Linked DNA regions of Homo sapiens: regions 2 and 3 are each linked to region 1. The links are contacts of gene promoters, found by promoter capture Hi-C in blood cells and fetal thymus (Javierre and others, 2016). All regions are on one chromosome and are shown on one strand. Each heading gives the region's core, a stretch centred on a gene start or on the middle of the fragment in contact. The rest is flanking DNA. Distances are from core to core; before and after follow the strand shown. Region 1 holds the start of SCN3A (sodium voltage-gated channel alpha subunit 3). Region 2 overlaps COBLL1 (cordon-bleu WH2 repeat protein like 1). Region 3 overlaps COBLL1 (cordon-bleu WH2 repeat protein like 1).

Evidence for each region. The method cuts DNA at HindIII sites, captures the fragments that hold promoters and counts their contacts. A CHiCAGO score of 5 or more calls a contact.
Region 2: a contact is called between a fragment that was not itself captured here and the fragment with the promoter of SCN3A in region 1, in 2 of 17 cell types (total B cells and naive B cells). The highest score is 9.1, in total B cells.
Region 3: a fragment that was not itself captured here is called in contact with the fragment with the promoter of SCN3A in region 1 in 2 of 17 cell types (naive B cells and total B cells); the score reaches 6.5 in naive B cells.

Annotation. Positions count from the first base shown.
Region 1 is chr2:165,201,949-165,207,016 of GRCh38, reverse strand. SCN3A (sodium voltage-gated channel alpha subunit 3) reads left to right here and starts at 2,967. Exons shown (of 28, transcript NM_006922.4): 1 at 2,967-3,194. The HindIII fragment of the contact is 4,908 bases long and covers 1-3,899 here.
Region 2 is chr2:164,696,548-164,701,615 of GRCh38, reverse strand. COBLL1 (cordon-bleu WH2 repeat protein like 1) reads left to right here. Exons shown (of 14, transcript NM_001365672.2): 10 at 860-1,094; 11 at 2,117-2,211. Among named protein-coding and RNA genes, the nearest start is that of SNORA70F, 11 kb to the right of the region's middle. The HindIII fragment of the contact is 993 bases long and covers 1,877-2,869 here.
Region 3 is chr2:164,715,167-164,720,234 of GRCh38, reverse strand. The region is part of intron 7 of COBLL1 (cordon-bleu WH2 repeat protein like 1); the gene reads left to right. Among named protein-coding and RNA genes, the nearest start is that of SNORA70F, 30 kb to the right of the region's middle. The HindIII fragment of the contact is 1,343 bases long and covers 2,251-3,593 here.

The DNA of each region.
Region 1 (5,068 bases), core at 1,718-4,217:
AGACTGGGTAATGTATAAAGAAAAAGAGGTTTAATGGACTCACTGTTCCACATGGCTGGGGAGGCCTCACAATCATGGTGGAATGTGAAGGAAGAGCAAAGGCACATCTTACATGGTGGCAGGCAAGAGAACGTGTGCAGGGGACACGTTCCTCTTTATAAAACCATCAGCTCTCATGAGACTTATTCATTATCACTAGAACAGCATGGGCAAAACTCGCCCCCATTATTCAATTACCTCCCACCAGGTGCCCCCCATGACATGTAGGGATTATGGGAGCTACAATTCAAGATGATATCTGACAATTCAAGATGATATCTGGGTGGGGACACAGCCAAACCATATCAGGTACTAACTACGTTTTACTTCCCTCACATTTCATTGCTTCTTCACCTGTAAAGTGTGTATAATAATACCTCATATGGGTGAAGTTTAAATGAACATATGTAAAGTGCTTAGAACAATGTCTGGCACATAGTACCAATAAATGTTAGTTTTGTTATTGTTACTAATATTATTAAATGTCTTCATCATTACCTGAGGCTCTTCCCCTACCCTCCCCAATTCTGGCCAGATAGCCAAGGCTATTATTGCCTAAGTGGAATTGTCGTTGGAGATGGACAGAAGAATTGTCAAATTCTTGTGCTTTATATTTAAATTCTTGTGTTAGGGGTTGAATTGTGCCTCCTCTCAAAAAGTTCTAATTCTGAGTAATTCAGAATATGCCCTTATTTTGAAATAGGGTATTTACAGAGATAATCAGGTTAAAATTAGGTTATGAGGGCGGACCCTAAACCAAAGTGACTGGTGTCCTTATAAAGAGGAGAAAATTTGACACAGAGGCATGCACAGAGGGAGGAGTACGTAAAGACAGTGATGCAGGGAGTGCACCATGTAAAGACAGAGACAGAGACTGGAGTTATGCTGCCACAAACCAAGGAACATCTGGGGCTACTAAAAGCTAAGAGAAGCAAGAAAGTATCCTTCCCCTGCAGGTTTCAGAGGAAGCATGATCATGCTGACAACTTGATTCTGGCCTCTGAGTAGCCAGAATTGTGAAAAAAATGATTTCTGTGTCTAAGCCCCTCAGGATGGCAGTTTGTTACAGCAGCCCTAGTAAACTGATACATTAGACATAAGACAAAAAGATTTCAAGGGAAAACAAGTGGCTCCAGCTTACCTTTGGTACAGAAAGAAGAGACCCAAGCAAAAACTCTTTTGAGTCTGTGAAGGAAGTTATGAAGAAGGAAAGGAGTCTCTGATAAGGGCTCCTTACATAGTTTGCCAATCTAGGATTAGCTAAAAAGATGAAAAGATGAGAAGTTTCCATCTATTTACACTATTCTAGTGTGGCAGAGATTGTGCCTCGCTTGCCTGAAGCCTGCAGAGTGCATTACATCCCATGGTTTACAAACAGCAGAACAGAGATGGCTGTGTGAGGCGCCTGGGGCAGGGAGGAAGGCTTAAGTCAGCCAATTACAGCCAAGAGTGACCCTGGGAACATGCTGCTTTTTCTTCTCTCCTCCTAAAGGACAGGAACAAAAGTTTCCTTAGAGGAAGAAGTGACAAAGAGGGGATGCTGCCATGCAAAGCTGGAGGGATGCTATTCCCGGGGCCCAGTGGGCCTGTGGGTACGTTAGTAGATATGAGGGATAATGATGGTCATGGATCATGCAGGACTCCTGGCCTCAGTGGATGCCCATGTGGAGAAAGGGGGAACGGGATCATACTCTGCTTTCTCTATATATGTACACAATCCTGAACTTAGATCAGTCTCCATGAGAAGGAGAGATAGAAGAGGAAAATCATGTATTGGTTGAATGCAAACCCAAAATCATTGGGAAAAGCCTCAAGTAATTTAGTTTACCTGGAACTGACTAGATTTATTTTTCTGCCATTAGACAAAATGGGGGCCACAATTGAAAACGAAGTATGTAATTAACAGTTCTTGAACACATGGCTGGGAAATATGGTATCAGCTATATTTGTTTTTCTTCTTTGTATGAGCTCCTTTATGGCAGGCACTGTGTGTTTCTCTCTGTGTCTTTTCAAGTCTAATATAATACTTGACATCATTTTTGTCCATCCATACAGTTGGTTTGTCAATATGAATGTATTTATTTAATTGATGATAAACTGTAATAAAATCATAGTTGTTTGCTCTAAAGTAGATATGAAAGGTCAGATGAAACAATAACATACATCTGGATTGAGAAATATCTTAATAACTGATGGATTATTTTTATTTTCTTTATGTATTGTGTGCTTCAATATCCTAATAAATAATATTAGCTAGGTTCACTGATGTATAGAATCTTTTTCTACATTTAGATATTTCTTGCAAATGTTTTACCAGAAAGCAACACAAAAATACTATCAGTGAGTATGTGTTTACACTGTTCTCTAAGGAGTCAAATTCCTCACCTTGAAAATAATTCATCCCAGGAAGAGAAAAGGTTTTCAAAAGACTAGAGCAGGCCACAAGGGAGCTTTCGCAAAACTCTACACGTAAAGGGTAATGTAAACTTAAAACCTATTTTTCAAACAGTAATTTATATATCTTTTAATTTTAGTAGTTTATGTGTGAAACAATCATGCAAAACAACAAAGTGATAAAATTTTTTAAAAAAATTAGTGAGATGCAAATAACTGAATATGTAAAAGGTCTCATACATATTTATATGTAGTAGATAAGTTACATTTTTTTAGTGTGTTGGGAAATTTTAGCTCACATCACCTCTCTACTGTCATCTTGGGGCACTTTCATGACTACCCATGCTTCATGCAGGTTTACTTTCCTCCCTGTGACAGAGGATAATGGGAATGTTTTTTCTTTGGCTCAATTTTGTGTGTGTCCGCCAGTAGATGGCGGTACCACTTTGAGTGCGATCGGCCTTTTTTTCTTTCTTTTTTTTTTTCCTCAAAGCTGTTTTCTGATATATGTTGGGTACCATAGAGTGAATCTCAGAACAGGAAGCGGAGGCATAAGCAGAGAGGATTCTGGAAAGGTCTCTTTGTTTTCTTATCCACAGAGAAAGAAAGAAAAAAAATTGTAACTAATTTGTAAACCTCTGTGGTCAAAAAAAAAAAAAAAAAAAAAAGCTGAACAGCTGCAGAGGAAGACACGTTATACCCTAACCATCTTGGATGCTGGGCTTTGTTATGCTGTAATTCATAAGGCTCTGTTTTATCAGGTAAGCTGACAAAACATTTCATTATCTGCACCATAGAACCTAGCTACCAGGTCATTTTCCTTACTTTAAAATCATCTTCATGCTGCTATTTTTAACCCAGTGTTGTTTAAATGTAAATTACAGGAACCAAAGGCATCGTTTGATGTGTAAACTGCTTACTATTTCTTTATCTTTCAAAGAAAATAGAGCCTGTCTGGAAATGGTGATTTATGGTACATACTAGGCATCAATGGTCTTGTGTTTTTGTAGATGCTTATGATTAATTGTATTCAGAAAAAATATTTTTTATTATACTTAAAGCTAGTCTAATGAGTTTCCTGGCTGTATGTCATCTATTTAAATGCCCAGTGTGTCCAGTATTTTTTAAACATAAATGTATAGTGAAATTGGAACTATCATTCTTGTGCTTTAGTTTTTTATTTAACAGCTTTAGAGAGGCCATGCATATAGGGAGTGATAACAATATAGAGGTGTTTGGCTTTGTGAAATACACTATCATTTTTCTCTAAAATCTGTTTTCATAGAGAAAAGAACACCAATACTAACCATTTAAAAGAGGTTGAACCTTCAAAAAATAAAATAATCTCTATATGTTCCATAATATGCTACTTCTTTATCCTTTAATATATTCATTTTATATTAAATGTTTACCTTTTAATTTATTGATTTAAAGATTATTATATATTCTTAATTGTTCTATAAGCTTGATAGATTGCTGTTTTTCTGTATATATTTAATAACTGTTTATTTTTATTAATTACCAGGAAGAACCACTGGAGCCATAAAACAATAATTTACTTTATCTATGATCCATATTGTCTGTAGTTGTATTTAGAATATTCTATATCATAACCATAAATGTTTCATTCAGTTAGCCACCACATAATTAGAATAAGAAATTATTGACAGAAAATCTATACATATTAATTGAAAGATAAGTTTTAAAAATCATACAGGGTTTTAAAATACACAACAGGTAGTATAATGTGGCTTATGAGGACAAAGATAAAGGCATAAGTGCTTGTAGGAATTTGCATGGAAACATTTCATCACATTCACTCCAAATAGAGTGTGCCCTATATGAAATGAAGACTTCTGATTTCAACAGGGCTTCCAGTCAGTACTGGCTAAAAGGGCTTCAAAAATAGAACTTAAGGCCTCCAAACTGTAATTCCTAATGATATGTTGAAAAATATTGACATCTCACTTAATATTTTACATTGAGTAGCAATAATAGTCCCCCCAAAAACATTTCAAAATAGTGGTTGCCTGAGAGGAGAGCCCTGGGTCTTGTCTATTTCAGAAGAATTCCTACCATAGGAGATAAAGAAAACTATTTCTTTGGACAGGGTTCCCAGAAATGGCTGTTAATTAACTTGAGTGTATTGTACACACCATGCTTCTCTACAGGTGACTAAATGTGAGTAACTTTGTTCTGAGTAAGCATCAGAGCTGGTCTTGATTGAACTGGTTTACATTTATGAATGAATGCTTAATTTTGGCCCCAAATGTTAGCTTTTATTTTTCTTGGTATAGTTGCAACAGTCTCTTAGTTATTCATCTATACATGTGGTCGCCATGTGAAAAAGCAAATACACTCAGAGTTCTTCACTTCACAAAATGCGCTCTTTCAAAAATTTCGGAAATTAAACCTGCTTTGATTAAATGATATATCAAACACATTTGAATAACTTACTCTTTAAAAGAATGTAGTGGTGATTTCATTTGTAAAGTTGAGAAAAATGCTGTGATTTATTTGAGTACTGAAGATAAAAAGGTTGAACCCTGAGCTGAAAGTCTTGGGATCTGGTTCATGTTCTGCTACTAGTGAGTTTTGTTGTCTCAGAAAAGACCCCAAGTATCACTGAAGAGCA
Region 2 (5,068 bases), core at 1,124-3,623, 500 kb after region 1:
TAATATGGATGATATTTAAGATATTGTAAGTGGAAAAAAAGCTAGGTGGCTACAGTATGCTTCCATTTATATTAAATAAACTAACAAAAGGAAACGTGAGTATGGTTATCAGCCTATGTATGTATATTACACTTTCTCAGGACATACAGGAAAAACTGTTAAAGCAAGTTGCCTCTGAGAATCAAACTGGTTAGGAATAAAACTTAATTTTCATTGTCCAATACTTGCTCTATTTGTATTTTCACAAATTAAGCATCTAGGTCAGTGGCTTTTAACTGAGGTTGCATAGTAGAATCATCTAAGTAGTCTTAAAAATCCCTTGCCCCACCCTTCAGAGATTCTGATTTTGTGGAGTAGGGTGTGAGCCTCAATATTTTTAAAGGGGGCTCAGGTAATTCTCAAGTATAGTTGGTACTAATAACTATTGAGTCAAATTTTATGAGTGCCCTTGTAGACAATACAAAAATCTCATGTGCTTTTCATTTTCACTTTTAAAATTATTAATTTGCCTTTAATTTGCACTATTGAGTTGCTGGATGAGTGTAAAAACCATTCAATTGTAAGACATTTCTTAAATGAAATATTTAACTTAAAGTTTATGAGATTAAATAACCTCTTGTCTCTACCATGAATAAAACCTAGAGTGATAGCAAATTGTTTTGGGAATTATGAGTCTGAGATAATCTGGTTTTATGTTAACGTGACTGCTCACCAGGAGAAAGAACTTCACTATTATTTTTGAGGCAGAATTTAAAAGAGTCCAGCTAATTATTATTTTTCAAAATTCCTTCCTTGCCAGAATTGCATGTGATGAATGAGGCAAATTAATATTTAGGATTATATCTGCATTTCTTTGTAGCTGGAATAAGCTCTGATTATAGCCTTGAAGAGATAGATGAAAAGGAAGAACTGAGTGAAGTGCCTAAAGTTGAAGCTGAAAATATTTCTCCGAAGTCACAAGATATTCCTTTTGTATCTACTGATATAATAAATACACTGAAAAATGATCCTGACTCAGCCCTTGGCAATGGTAGTGGAGAGTTCTCACAAAACTCCATGGAAGAAAAACAAGAAACTAAAAGCACAGATGGACAGTAAGTAGTCTCTGTGCTGGAGTGTTGGTGGCCGTTAGTTTAATTAATACTAGTCTTCTGAAATATAGATCTGATATTTTAAACATAAATATAGTCAGCCCTTTGGTTTTGACTTTATCCTTTTTACCATTATATAAGAATGTTTATTAATGAAGTACTTATTTGCATGTAATTACATTCAAAGAAAATCAAATGTGACAGTTCTAATATCCCTGTGTCAGATAAACCATGAGAAATAGTTTGTGTGATTCAAAAATGAAAATTTTTCTTTTTGTGGGTGTTTTGCCTGTTAACCTATGTGACCTATATGTAATATTTAATTTTCAATTTTTACCAAGTATTCCTGGTGGATTTTCACTGGTATATGAAAACAATTATGCATATTAGAATATGATGTTAAATCACGAGTATTATCTTTGCAGTCAACTTTATGAAACAGAGAATGTACTTTCTGCTTTATTCTAGAAACAGACAGCTATAGTCTAGTCCACTTAGGTTTGAAATGCAACAACATGGATAAAGATGAAATCAACCAAGCAAAATAAACCATATATGTCAGACGTTTATTATAATTTGCATGAGATTGTCTCCTTATTAAACTATTCTACCACCAAAGGGAAAAAAAGATCAGTGAGGTCAATCTACATTCTTATTTATATAGTTGACCTTGCCAGATGAAAAACTAAAATGTTTCATTTAATTTCCTTTTTCTTTAAAAGGCAAATAAATGATAATAGCAAAATAAAGCCACTATTTTGGAAAAGTGTCTATTTTACCAAGCTTCTTTCTTTTTAATGGGACCACCACATGAAAGCTAATGTTTCATAGCAGCATTTCTTCTCAGTTATATTTTTTCTCTGCTATTAAATTTCCGATGTTTGGCAGAAATAAATGATTATTTTAGTCCATCTGTCTTTGGAAATTATTGCCTGTTTCTCATTGTGTGTGTGTGTGTCTGTGTGTGTGTGTATGTGTGTGTTTCAATAGTATCAACATATAACATACAATGTCGTATCTTCCAGAGAACCACACAGTGTAGTATATGATACAAGCAATGGAAAGAAGGTAGTTGACAGTATAAGAAACTTGAAGTCGTTGGGCCCAAACCAAGAGAATGGTGAGTTATATAAATTAATAGCCAACACTTTCTTACTTTTATTATGTGCCAAGGACAGTTCTTAACACTTTATATGTATTAACTCATTTAATCTCCTGTAACTCACTTAATACCTACCTCATTTATGGATATTATGGGTACTATTATTTTTAGTTCCATTTTACAGATGATTGTGCCACAGAGATATTAAATAACTCACCTGAGGTCTCACAACTACTACGGTAAGTGGTGAACCTAGGATTTAAACTGGGGCAATATTGCTCTAGAGTGTGCCCTTAACTACCATGTGTACTACTTTTGTTGTTAAAACATAGAAATTATCTAATTTAGACTTTGGATCTTAAAAATGTTTCTTCTGTGTATCTATTTGCGATCTGTTTCTCTTTTTTTCCATCTAACTTCCTTGGATGAAACTTTTCTGCCTGATTTTTCAAGGCCCAAATCATCTAATAATATAACCTTATTTACCACTGTTTCCCAGTTCCCATCCTCATATTAGCACAACTTATTTTTTCTCATGATGTCATTTGCTTATTTCTATATCATAAGGCATATATTCATGTTGTCTTTGTCTGAAAGACAATTTTTCATCTATTTTACCCATTCAATTTTTATCCAAATCATATCATTTCATGTTTTTACTTGATTATTAGAAGCTTTGCGGTTCTATATTTATGATTCCTCAACTGAATTAGGCAGTCTTGGATCAGATAAATTACATGTGATACTTTGCACTACTCATGGCACCTAACAGAATCCTGAGATACTCATAAAATATGTACTTAGTATTGAATTTCAGAAAAACAATCCTATGCAAATAGAAAATTCAAAAAATACTCAATGGTGTTTTAAGGGGTTAAGAAGGAAGTGGCTTATGAATTCTCATAGTCCAATCTATTATGTTAATCTAGAAAACTAGGTTAAGATATTTAGAAAACTTAGGATGTAGTATTCATATTTGAATAAGACATAGATAATCGCAATGTCATACTTATATATATAATTATATATATATATAATTGTATGTGTGTGGTATGTGTTCATTAACTTGATTATGTGTGCTACTGATTCATTTTCTCCCACATTCAATACCATTGTGAGATATCATACTGAGAAGGTCTAAAAGCAAATAATTTTTTCATTCTTTTCCACTTGAGTCAGTTTTTCACAGCATGTACTGTGATGGCAATAGCATTCCTATTGAGAAATTATGATTTAAAAGCTGCTTCTTTCTCTTTAAAACAATAGTCAAGTTGTATCATTTTTGTTAAGACTTTTGTTGTCAAGTTAGTGCCAGAGTCACAAGTACATTTACGTAGTACTTTGATTTGCATATGGTTTGTTTTGCTACGACTTTTGTCAACTCTAGTTGTTTTTTAAAGTAAATAATGTCTATTATTCTTAAAGTAGTTTTATTCTGTTTTCCTTTTTACCTACCCTTATCTAAATCACCTTCTTGTAAGTTTGTCAATGTCAGTGTCACTTTTGAGTAGAGGGTCACTATAGTATAAAAGATACCTTCTCCCTCTACTGGCCATTCTTGGAAAATGATCTAGCCATTTATAAACACTTGGTTAACATCATTGTCAGTTGTATATGAGGATGGATTCTGGGTTTCCAGGACTGCCAATCACTGGAAATGATCATGAAATGTTGAGAAGAAATTCAGAGTTAGACAATGGTAAAGTAGGTGTAACCTACCAAAAATATGAAAAAGAGAGACTTATAATTCTAAAACCAATAAATTAGGGTTTTTAAACGGGGATTCAATTTAAAATATATGTTTACATTGACTTTCTTTCTTTTGGAAAATATTTCTGGGAAATACATATACTCAGTGGAAAATTAGAAATAAGAAAGAAAGAAGGAAATACATTTAGACTCATTTCCTGCTGCCAGAGATTGTTTCTTAAATTCTTTCATGCTTATAACTGTTCAAAATAGTGTTTTTCATATGAACATTGAAAAATACTTATGAACCAAGTAAATTGAGAGCAGAGGCAGAAATGTGCCTCTTCTATGGTTCCTAAGAACATGGGTCTTTAATTTTGTAAATCAAAATAGTTAATAATAATTGGTCATTGAGAAAAGAATTCACCTAAGTAGATGGTACGTATTCTGATACTCAGTTGCATTTTATCTGGGAAGAATAAAAATGAGTTCCATTTTAAAATTACATGTTTAATATAGGAATCTTGCAACACAATATAGAATATTAACTGCCACAACCAAATAACTGTGCAATCAGGCAGAGTTTAAAAATGTGAAGATATGTTTTTAAATTGTATACAAATTTACCTAACATGATATTTTTCTGCATGCATATCTTTTTTCTTTTTCTTTTTTTAAGAGAGAAACTATATAATATAGCTTATTACATTTTAGGCAGTGTACTTCATCTCATTCTTATAGGTAATAGTGGGTAATGATAAAACTATAGAGAAATAACTTGACATAATTTCACAGTTTGACCCCCAAGGCTCACATTTAACTTGTGCTGTGCAAACTATTGCCATATGTGAAAAGGCCACTAGGGTTTTGAAGATAAGCACAGTGATGGTGCAGGAAGCATGATTCTTCAGGGCATTTGAATAGAGGAGCAGAGGAATGACTTAATTCGGTACTGGGCACATGGTGCAGACTCCAAACCCTGTTTCCTTCCACATGCCTCCTGCCAGTGCTTTGCCATCATGTTGTTGACTGGAAGCTGTTGCTCTGTTAACCTAGACACTGGCAAATGAGTTTTGTTTTCAGGAGGTCTGAATTAGAATCAAGAGGAAAAGTAGTGCAAGGGAGAGGAAGGTTATTTTCTCTACTTTGATTTTGACTCTGACTGTAGAATAAGGATGCCTATTTC
Region 3 (5,068 bases), core at 1,673-4,172, 490 kb after region 1:
TAATTATTTTTTCTTTTGATCTGGACATCTGGATAGTTCTTTGATGTATTGTTCAGTAGGACCCAGACTTATTTGTCTTTCCCTAGAGAAGCTGAAGAACCATTTTTTATTTATTCATTGCAAAAATTCTTAGTGATAAAGCTGTAGTGCACACAAAAATTCATACCTTCCTAGGCATCTCTGCAACTAACTTCTTGATATATTTGATGTGGTTAATTACCCCCTTGGTCTTGATTTGTCTTTTTCTTCCTTGGTCTTGAACCTCTTCTTATATCTCAGCCCTCTTCTATTTTTTTTTTCTTGTCACTGTTTCTTTTATTCATTTTCTAAATTTGGAGGTACTAAATCCATGGTCTTGGTCTATATTTCTGCACTTATTCAGAGAAGACATCTCTTCTTTTTTGAGTTTGTGGGCTGATGGTTCTCAACTGTAGTGGTTTGAATATGTTCCTTGCAAAAGGTATGTCTGAGCTCTAACCCTTCCAAAACCTGTGATTCTGACCTTATTTAGAAATAGAATTTTTGCAGATGTACTTAAGGATCTAGAAATGAACTCATATTGGATTTGAGGTGGGCTCAAATCCAGTGGCAGGTATCCTTATAAGAAGAGGAGACACACAGGCAGAGAGACACAGAGAAGGTCGTGTGAAGACAGGCAGAAATTGGCATTATGCTGCCACAGCGAACCATTACCAGGAGTCAGTGGAAGCTGGAAGAGGCAAGGGAGGGTTCTCCCTAATGCCTTCAAAGGGAGCATGACTCCGCCAACACCTTGATTTCAGATTTCTGTATTTCAGAACTGTGGAAGAATACATTTGTGTTGTTTTTAGCCACCCAGTCACAGTAATTTGTTAGGGCAGCCCTAGGAAACTGTACATCAACTTCGTAATTCCAGTCTCGGTATTCTTCCAGTTGCAATTTGAATTCACAGTTGCTATTGACTCATGACTACCTGGAAGACGTATTTAAGATCCGAATCATTGTTTTTCACCAGACTGAAAAGCTCAAGTTCATCTTTGTTTTTTTTTCTTTTTACATCTAATTAGAGACAAATCCTTCATTCAGTCTCCCTTCATGATGTCTTTTATTCCCTCTGCTGACATCTTTTGTAGAGAAATCCAGGACAGAGTATAAAGAGAAAACCAGTACTTAATGTGTCTTTGAAATTCTCAACGTGGCAAGCTGCTGCATTTGTATTTCTTAATTATCACTTCTCAGTTCAGAAATTTTGCATAGCTTGTTGTCATTTTTCTGGGCATCCAAGATCCTCTACAGAATGATTACAATTTTACTTTTAAACTTTTTAATGCCTCCTCATTGATAGGATAGGATACTTCTATCTCTAACCAGAAGATTTGACTTATTGTTGCTGATGCAAAAATCCTGTGTTCTGTATCTTTTCAGAATGGAATGGCCCCACTTCCATCTTCTTCATTTCTACTTACCCATCCAAAGGATGTCCATTCTTTTATCAGATTCATGGAGAGTTTTCTGAAGATGCCAGCGCAGAATAATCTTTACCTTCTCTGAATTTGTTCCTCTTGTCCCTTTTTATTTTCTCTTAATTTGCATTATGTATAGGTTTTATATGTTATTCTAAAGATAAAAAGAGGAATACAGTAAAAATTCTCCTTCCCTATCCCCCACCAAGTTCTCCTGCCCAGAGGCAACCACTGTTAACAGTTTCTTGTGTGTCTTTCCAGAGATAATGTATGCATATTAAAACCAATATTCATGCTAAATATTTTTTTTCCTCAGGTGGCCATATACTACATGCATGTTATACTTTACTTCTTGGTATGGAATTATTTATTCTGGATATTCTTAGCAGTTCATAAAGGGCTTCCCTTTTCGAAGGATTGAATAATATTAAATTGATGGGTATAACATGACTTACTTACCTCATCCTCTAAAGATAAACTTTAGGGTTGTATTATGGCTTAATGCTTGCAGCATTGTTAAATTTTACCTTTTTCTTTTCCCCACCCAGAAGGCAGGAATTGTGTTCTCCAGCAAAATTCTGTAACATGGTAGGTGTTCAAGAGAATTGATAAGTAAACATTAATCACTGCTTTCATAGCCAGGTATAGTATATACAATGAGAATGTGTCACACTTATATCGTAAAATTTTAGTATGTCATTCATATATCTGGTAAATTTTCAGAAGTACGTGGTTAACTTAAAGATTGCTTACATTTACTTTTATGGTAATTGGACCATGTAATTTTTAGCAATATATTTCTTAAGCTTTTATAGAAAAGCCAGAATTTAGATAAGGTTATATTGAAAACTTAAGGTCCAACTAAACTATACTGTACATTGCATAATGCATATAAATATAATTGATCCTTGAATTAAAATTGTTTATAGCCCAGGCTTGATGGCTCATGCCTATAATCCCAGCACTTTGGGAGGCCGAGGTAGGAGGATCACTTAAAAGCCGGGAGTTCAAGACCAACCTGGGCCACAAAGTAAGACCCCTGCCTCTACAAAAAATAATAAAATAAAATAAATCAGCCAGGCATGTTGGTGTGTGCCTGCAGTCCCAGCTACTCAGGAGGCTGAGGTGGGAGGATCACTTGAGCACAGGAATTCAAAGCTGCAATGAGCTGTGATCTCACCACTGCACTCCGGCCTGGGTGACAGGGTGAGACTGTGTCTTTAAAAAATAATAATGAATTTTAAAATAGTAAAAATGTGGTTTATATAGCCAGATGCAAATATTCAGGAAATTCAGCAAAACATATGAACGTACAAGTGAATCATACTTATTTCACTGCTTGCTTGTTTTAAATTTAAAATCAAAGATGGTCATTATCACTATAAACGTTTGTATCTATTTTAACAATTTAGTTTTCAATTTGAAAATGTAAAATATCACTATTTTTAGTGATTGAAAATGATAGCATGTTGAGGAAAACATAACTTGGAAGAAAAATATGTATGACCAAATTGGTTCTAAGTATGTGAATTTTAGACACTTTTATTTAATTTTTATTGTTCAGGATACAAAATAAACCACAAGGGTGCGCTGTTTGACAGAAGTACAGTATTCTAATTTTTCCATTTTTTTTCTCCAAAGCACATTTTAATAAAGCAGAAAGAAAATATTGGAAATAGTTACATTGCATGAGAAGTAGAAAATGCTTATTCATGCGGGTAAATAAAGCTAGAGAGATAAATGTCAGTAACACATGACAAAGGGATTTATAATTAGCAATTTTATTCATTTTGAGTTTTTAATGCATTTTCTTGTTCTTTTAAGAGCCACAGAAACTATGTTTGCCTTAGTCAAGGTTTACTGATGTCAGTAAATCTGTAGCTTAGGAAAAATTTTGTCAACCACATTTATTTTATATTTTTTGGCTGTCTATATTTAATAATTTGCCTCATTCTTCTAAGATATTTCTCAATATTAGCAAATTAAAGTATATGGATGGTGTTTTTTTAGAGCTTATACTGAAAATGCTCACATAAAAGGCTGTTGATTTGCTGAGCTAATTTTGACAAACTAACTGTGCAGTTTCCAAAGACTATTCAAAGTTAGCCGAGATAGCAAAGATCCAAGTTAGCAAATGATTTAACCCAAGCTTTCTTAGAATATTTCTGCATCTAAAATTATTTTTTCCATCTAAAGAATACATTTTGAAGAACACATATTTTACTATTATTGCTGCAGTATCCTTTCAAATCCCTAAATTTCTATGTACCCTCTTTCACATTATTTCAAGTCTCATGTCATTTTTCCTATGAAGGTGAATATATCATCTTCTATGAAAATGTTCATTTGAAAAGAAAACTTTCCCATTAGAAATTTTCTGGCAGTATTTCTTGGTAGTTTTTGAGCATTTTTTAAATATGATTTTTCCTGATGATTTGAAATGCCATTTGTGCAACAAGACATATAATAGATCATGCTTTATTTATATGAACCATATAACATATATTCTTATATAAAATGTACACAGTTATTTACGATAAGATTGTCATTTGTGAAATGGGAAGTCAGAAATTCGATTACATTGACTTAAATTGAAAGTGACTTAGAATTCTCAGATAAATCTAAGTTCAGAAATCTAGTTTCTGCACCGTATCTGCTGACCAAGAGTTTATGAAGAGCACATTTAATAAAATCAATGGCCAAAGGATGTTCTGGTCTTATTGACAAATTAGCCTCATAAGCTGATTTTACATTTGAATAAGTGGAAGAAGAGTCAGGGAAAAGTATTTGGTAATCTTGACCCATAGAATTCACAGAACCTTTTGGAGAATTTTTCATTTGGCACATTTGGTGTGACTGCTGCTTGGAATGATGGATATACAACAGCAATCAATTTTTCTCCTGGCTACGGGGATGGCACATCATTTTCTCTGGGATATTACATTGTGGCTGGAAACACTGTAAGAAATGATCTTCACTGGGCATTTTATTTTATCTCATTTTGCATCCTGCTTCAGACAAACACTCAACTATTGAGAAACGGAAACTCTTTGCCATCTAGTATTATGCAAGTGAAATTTAATACCTAGAGTGTTAGTTTTAAAATAACTGACTTAATTTTTTAAATGTTTTACATTATTCATCTTTTATGCAATTTTATATTCTAATATATATCATGGTTTATAAGCAGATAAGATGATGTATTGTCATATACTTATGAAATGTACAGGTACATATTTTGCTATTTTACTTAATTTTAATCCTAGTTATTTTACATAGAGTATGTAAGGTTGTACCCTCTGTTGTAATAGAGTATGTATTTGCAATGTTTAAGAAACATCCCCCTTTTTAGATTTTTACACAGGTTGTTATATTTTATTTTCCCCTCCATTTTCCTCTTATATTTATTATATAGAAAGTGGACCACCATGCATAATTCTACAATTGCCTAGGAACAGTGGTTACCATGGCATTTGCAGTTTGCTGTACAGAATACAGCTGTCTATACTTCCAAAAATATGACTGGTTTCATTCAGTAGAGAAATGTACCAACACAGTATAATATTTAATCTGCTCCCCTTTTTAAGGCTTTCCTAGATATAATACATACTTTGCCACTGTAGTTT